Linked DNA regions of Homo sapiens: region 1 is linked to region 2. Evidence: promoter capture Hi-C in 16 types of primary human blood cells and fetal thymus (Javierre and others, 2016). All regions are on one chromosome and are shown on one strand. Each heading gives the region's core, a stretch centred on a gene start or on the middle of the fragment in contact. The rest is flanking DNA. Distances are from core to core; before and after follow the strand shown. Region 1 holds the start of EVI2B (ecotropic viral integration site 2B). Region 2 overlaps NF1 (neurofibromin 1).

Region 1 (3,519 bases), core at 261-2,760, 55 kb after region 2:
TTTTGTATTTTAAATTTTTGTGGGTACATAGTAGGTGTATATATTTAAAGGGTAATGAGATGTTTTGATACAGTCACGCAACGTGAAATAATCACATCATGGAGAATGGGGTATCCATCCCTTCAAGCACTTATCCTTTGTGTTACAAAGGATCCAATTACACTTTTAGTTATTTTAAAATGTATAATTATGGTATTAATGACAGTCACTCTGTTGTGCTATCAAATAGGTCTTATTCATTCTTTCTATTGTTTTTTGTACCTATTAACTGGTAACACCATCTCCCCAACCCCTCATTACCCTTTAGTAACAAGTTAACTTTAGTTAACTTCTTATTTAAAAAATGATCCCCAATTTATTTTATTTTCCACTGAGAAGTAACTACTTTGTGGGTAATCAAATAAATAGTTGAGAACTTGAACTCAAAAGTCACTAGTAAAATATTTGGTCAAAATAATTTAATTACAAATATACAAATGGCAAACAGGCATACGAAAGGGTACTCAGCACCACTGATGAGAGAAATGCAAATCAAAACTACAATGATACCTCATCTCACCCCAGTTAAAATGGCTTATACTCAAAAGACAGGCAATAACAAGTGCTGGGAAGGGTGTGGAGAAAATGGAACTCTCGTACGCTGTTAGTGGGAATGTAAATCAGTAAAACCACTATGGAGAACAGTTTGGTGGTTCCTCAAAAAACTAAAAATAGAGCTATCATATGATCCAGCAATCCCACTGCTAGGTATATACCCAACAGAAAGGAAAACTGTACAAAGAGACATCTGCACTCCCACTTTTGTTGTAACACTATTCACAACAGCCAAGATTTGGAAGCAACCTAAGTGTCTATAAACAGATGAATGGATAAAGAAAATATGGTACATATACACAATGGAGTATTATTCAGCCATAAAAAAGAATGAGATCCTGTCATTTGCAAAATAATGTAATTATACTTTTACCCTGGACTTTTTATATTATGAGGAAATAACATTACATTTATTGGTTACCTGCAGTTGGTGAGGCATTTATACATGTTATATTATGCTATCTTATTTAATCCTCACAATAACCCAATAAAATATTCCTTTAGAGGAGGAAACGGTGACTCAGAAGTGCAGAGTCTTGCCTAAGGTCATACAAGTAAACAGAACACATCACTCACTTCTTATGAGAAGAAATCTCACTGTAAGTGATAACCCAACTGGCAGCTTTTCTTCTTAGAACATGTAATTTTCTCTTCGGGACTCCATCCTAAATATTTAATTTACATAATCATATTACTAGAGTATCTCAAATATTTATTTACATAATTAAAAGCACTCAAATCATAGGGCTCCAAAATGTATTTCAAAATAAGTTCTGTTAAAGTAATATATTTCTTAGTCACTTTGTGGTTTATTGCACTTCCGGAACCAGCTATTGATAAACTTCCTCTTTTTCTACAGAAACTATTTCAGTTTGCTAGAGGAACATTTTAAATCTGAATTGAACCACCCATTTTCCTTTCTTAGCCAAATCACCAAAATGTCCAGTTAGAACAAGAATTTAGCATTCTGCAAAAGAAGTTAACAGCTGAGGTAAGAAAATTTTCACACAATTTGGTTTGATCTTGCTTTATATAAAATTTATTTTAAAAACTGTCATTAGTGTTTTAAACTTAAACTCTGATAGTCTAAAGATGTCTATAACAGGTTTTTGTGGTTTTGTTGCATAGAATTAAAAAATACTCAGTTCAGCTTGCCTTAGAAAAATATTTTCACCTAGGTTTGTATAAGACCTTTTAAGTTTATTTAATCTCACACACACACACACACACACACACACACACACACATATTTTTTTTTTTTTTTGAGATAGAGTCTTGCTCTGTCTCCCAGGCTGGAGTGCAGTGGCACGATCTCAGCTCACTGCAACCTCCACCTCCTGGGTTCAAGCAATTCTCCTGCTTCAGCCTCTCAAGTAGCTCGGATTACAGGCGCCCACCACCACGCCTGGCTAATTTTTTTGTATTTTTAGTAGAGATGGGGTTTCACTATGTTGCCCAGGCTGGTCTCCTACTCCTGACCTTGGGTGATCCGCTTACCTCCGCCTCCCAAAGTGCTGGGATTACAGGAGTGAGCCACCGCTCCCAGCCACAATCATATTTGTTAACCTTAGTTTTAGAATTAAAAAGAAACTATAGCCATGGCAGATAAAGCTAAGGGTTAGAAATAGAACTAGATTCCACAGGCTATGACTGAATTTATAACCTCCAAAATATTAATTGTTAAAAGTTCTAATGTACTTTTTATAGAATTTTCCTGTACATAATATAATGCATAAATTAAAATTTTTGTATCCCCTTTAGTTTGCATAGTAAGAATGGTCACTTTCACTTAATTTAGAAAGAAAAAGAAATCAGATGTGGTATTTGACTATTATTATTATACATGCTTTATTTTTTACATATAGATTTTATATTTAATAATGATGACATGAAAACATTATGGCTCATTTTAAAAGCTTACTAAGCCAAAAATGTTAGTCAATAATCAAACATGCATGCGTATATTAATATCATCTACGTGTTTATGTCACATTATCTGAGACTTTAGAACATAGTATAAGATAGAAGAAACCTATAGAATAAACAATAGAAAATTGTTAATATGCATAAAAGATGCTTGCTGTGGGTAAAATGGGCAAATAAAAACTGCAAAGAGTATTTTACATAGACTTGTAATTTCAGGGAATAATATGTTCATAGTGGGTGATATCCCATTTCAACACTTAATAAATATTCATGACTTTCTCTTAGAAGGATTTCTTCTAAGTAATTACTGTGGAAGTCAGAAAATAAAGATATTTATCTCTTTTTCAGATTAGGCTTGTCTATATATTTTTCTACTTCTAATATTTAGTTTATTTCATTATGCATAAAGTCATAAAATTATATTAAATTTTTTTCACTGTCATATTTCATAAAATTAAAAAATTTCCCATCGATCCTTATGGTGTGTTTTTGTCATAGAATCCCATACTTTTTTTTTTTTTTTTTGAGATGGAGTCTCCCTCTGTCACCCAGGCTGGTGTGCAGCGGCACCATCTTGGCTCACAGGCTCACTGCAACCTCCGCCTCCCAGGGTCAAGAGATTCTTCTGCCTCAGCCTCCTGAGTAGCTGGGATTACAGGCACCCACCACCACGCCTGGCTAATTTTTTGTATTTTTAGTAGAAACGGGGTTTCACCATGTTGGTCAGGCTGGTCTTCAACTCCTGACCTCAAGTGATTGGCCCACCTCGGCCTCCCAAAGTGCTGGGATTACAGGCAGGAACCACTGCGCCTGGTCCCATACATGTTTTTAAAGGGTTAGTCCCAAATCTAAAGTTTACTAGTAGTGCCTGTGTTTTCCAGCTAATTCCCACATAATTCTACTTAGAAGGAAACTTTAATTCTGATTAAGTTTGAATTGAGAAACATAAATCTGATGCCTTTCAATGTCCAAGCTTTAAAAAAAAAATCACCACAAAAT
Region 2 (3,358 bases), core at 73-2,572:
ATCAAAGGAGAAACTAACAAAAATCTTGGAAAGTCATTAAAAAAAAACAATTAAAATGCATTACGTTTACACCAAAATATATCTTGAAAAAGCCAAGGTAGTATGAAACAGAATGATCATAGTATCTAGTTCTGGCATTTAAGTTTCTCAGCATAATTCTCACTTCTAAGAATTTTGGCAGCATTCTTTCTTTTTATCCTCTAAAATTAAATCTAGAAATCTCTCTAGGAACTGGTGAAGGATTTCACCTCAATATCCCATAGGAAAAACTCTCAGATTATCTGATAGACCACTCCAATGCAGACAGAACACATCCTGTATTGCTATATGCCATATTTTAAGTTAGTGAGAAGGCCTTGGTGCTGCACTTCTTTTCATCAAAACCCCTTTAAAGTTTTGTATTCTGGTATCTCTTTTGCCCCTAAAGCATTGGCTCTCCTTTCTGGCCTTTGGTGGACAACAAACAGACAAAACTACAAAGTGACTGACAGAAACCCAGAGGCTACCACACAAAGGAAATAAAGCTAAAACTTCTGTGGTCCTGATTTGCCAGCTTAAATGACCCCACAGATATGCTGTGGTCAAACATGCAGCCAATTACAAACATGCAGAGCAGAAACAGCTGGACATTCTGTACAGCAGTATATCAGCAGTACTATGTTTCAATAAATTGTGGTGGTTCCAGATAAAGACAAAATCCTAACTAGAAGGTGTTATTGGCCAAAATTCAGTGAATTTGAGTAGCTGGGGAAAAGGATTAGATTACATTATTGTTATTTAAGTTAGATGTCTATCTTCCCTGCTAGAACATGAGTTCCTTGAAGGCAGGTATCAAGGTTTGTGTATTTTTACAACTAGTGATGTAGCTCCAGCCTGACAATTTTTTAGTCACTCATTTTTAAAAAACACTTTTGGTTTCCCAAACTGAAATAATCAGTTATAATAGTATCATGAAATAATAAAACAACAGAATCGCTTTTAACTCTTGAAAAGCTAAGGAAAAATGGGTTAGGTAATTTGTGAGAAGTTATACTACAAAAATGACAGACTAATAAAAACTGAAATCTCCTGCCACCTGTGCAGGAGCACTAGTAGGTTACCTTACTCTGCATTTAGTTTATTTCATATACAATATGGCAAACTTATTAGAAAACTCTTATTACATACAGGAGAACTTAAACATGTCAGAAGACCTAGGTTTGAGACTTGTTTGGATCAATATTCTTATTTAGTTGTAATTCTTAATCTGGCAATTAAGGATAACAGCAGACTTGTCTATTTCAAAGGGTTGTTAGACAAAATAATCTATGTGAAGAATTTTTGCACACAGATAAAATAATTACTCCACAAATTAAGATGCTCCTAATATCTGAAGTAAAAGACCAGGTGATACAAAGGAGTTTTAGAACAAATACTAGGACTTTAATTTTATGCTAGAATTTGTAAAATGAGTGAAGCTAATATAAATAAGCACAAAATAGAATAAATCTTCTTAGGTAGCTACAGCCTATTTTTAAGCTACAGTAAATACATTCATGGAGGCGTATTAAATATATACTTAGAAATATTTTTATTTTGAGCTAAATATAAAAAATTGTAACTATAAGAATTTTTGGCTTGGTATTGTGGCTCATGCCTGTAATCCTAACATTTTGGGAGGCCAAGGCAGGCAGATCTTTGAGGTCAGGAGTTCGAGACCAGCCTGGCCAAAATGGTGAAACCTCGTCTCTACTGAAAATACAAAAAAAATTAGCCAGGCTTGGTGGAACATGCCTGTAATTCCAGCTACTCAGGAGGCTGAGGCAGGAGAATCGCTTGAACTGGGGAGGCGGAGGTTGCAGTAAGCTGAGATCACACCACTGTACTCCAGCCTGGGCAACAGAGAGAGACTCCGTCTCAAAAAGAAAAAAGAATTTTTAAAAATGACGTTCACCAACTGCTAGCACTTCTTTTTCTGTTTAGGTGTAATCTTTTTGTATATTAATTACAGGTGAATAAAAGAAAAGGCATCTTTTATAAATTAGACATAAATGTGTCAAATTTTTTCATCTTAGTCCTTATAGCTAACTAATGACCATATATTTTTTTTTTTTAATTTTTTTGTGAGACAGAGTATTGCTCTGTCACTCAGGCTGGAGTGCGGTGGTGCGATCTCAGCTCACCAAAGCCTCAACCTCCCCACCTCAGTCCTGTGAATAGCTTTTTGTATTTTTTGTAGAAAGAGGGTTTTGCCACGTTACCCAGGCTGGTTTTCAACTCCTGGACTCAAGTGATCCGCCCACCTTGGCCTCCCAAAGTGCTGTGATTATAGGCGTGAGCCATCGCACCTGGCCATATTCCTTTTTTTAACCACAGGTGATTGAATAGACAGCCAGCTTTAATTTCTGAGGAAACACTGGGGTTGGCTTTCTATTTGGGGAAAACAAGTTATTTTCTAAGCTAAAAAAACTTCATCAAACCACGTATTCTGCTCTTTCTCTATTAACTCTCTCTTGAGTTTCTTATTAACCTGCCTTTGTTAGTCCAGGTATGGGATTGCATCTTCATTGTTCTGGGTGGGTATTAGCAGCTCCTTAAACAAGACAGGCCACACACTGGCCGTGCAATTCCTGTTAAGTACCAAGACCTTATAAAGTGGTGGCTTTACAAGTTCCTAAAGTGCCTAAGGCAGACTGAGCTTACAGGGACCGGTGAGTAAAGTCTCATGCTATGTGCCCAGGATGAGTGTGGGGTAAGCAGTATTTTCGTGCAAAGATGATGAAAATAAAGAGTACCTTGATGAGGGAACAGCTGCATGAAAACTGCTGATTTAGAGCAAGGCAGAGAAGCTTTACAAAGAATGGAAGAAAAAAAAGCAAGTAAGTGATGTTCATAAGATTTAAAAAAGGGTGAAATACAATTAGATACTAGATAATTATAATGTTCCTTGGTTTTCAGAAGGAATCTGGTTTTAATTATTGAATTCTGACCATTAATTTCCTAAATATTACAGTTGGTAAATAAATGAGAGAACTTACAACTTTGTAGATGTATTTTTTTACCACTTATATTAAAATTAAGAATTTTAGTTTAAATTAAGAATTAAGCTAAAAATTAGATTTAAAAATTAGCAAGAATTATACCAAGAAATCGCTCAATTTAAAATTATTTTTCTCCCTTAAACATAGGATAATAACAAAGAAAAAGAAAACAAATCAAGAAAAAAAGGTCAGGTAATACCATAAACAATTCTCTAAAACATTAAAATCATTTCAGAGATCTTAAGTGGCCTCAAAATAGAGACTTCTAGGTTTCTTCTAAAAGGGAGATATTTCTTTTCCTTCTTTTAAAAGACGAGGGTCTCATGATGTTGCCCAGG

The links. The method cuts DNA at HindIII sites, captures the fragments that hold promoters and counts their contacts. A CHiCAGO score of 5 or more calls a contact.
Region 1: the fragment with the promoter of EVI2B here is called in contact with a fragment that was not itself captured in region 2 in 1 of 17 cell types (naive CD4 T cells); the score reaches 5.9 in naive CD4 T cells.

What each region holds. Positions count from the first base shown.
Region 1 is chr17:31,312,045-31,315,563 of GRCh38, reverse strand. It overlaps EVI2B (ecotropic viral integration site 2B), which reads left to right and starts at 1,510. Exons shown (of 2, transcript NM_006495.4): 1 at 1,510-1,585. The region is part of intron 36 of NF1 (neurofibromin 1); the gene reads right to left. The HindIII fragment of the contact is 2,631 bases long and covers 1-2,512 here.
Region 2 is chr17:31,366,695-31,370,052 of GRCh38, reverse strand. All of the region lies in intron 57 of NF1 (neurofibromin 1), which reads right to left. Among named protein-coding and RNA genes, the nearest start is that of RAB11FIP4, 23 kb to the left of the region's middle. The HindIII fragment of the contact is 3,017 bases long and covers 1-2,830 here.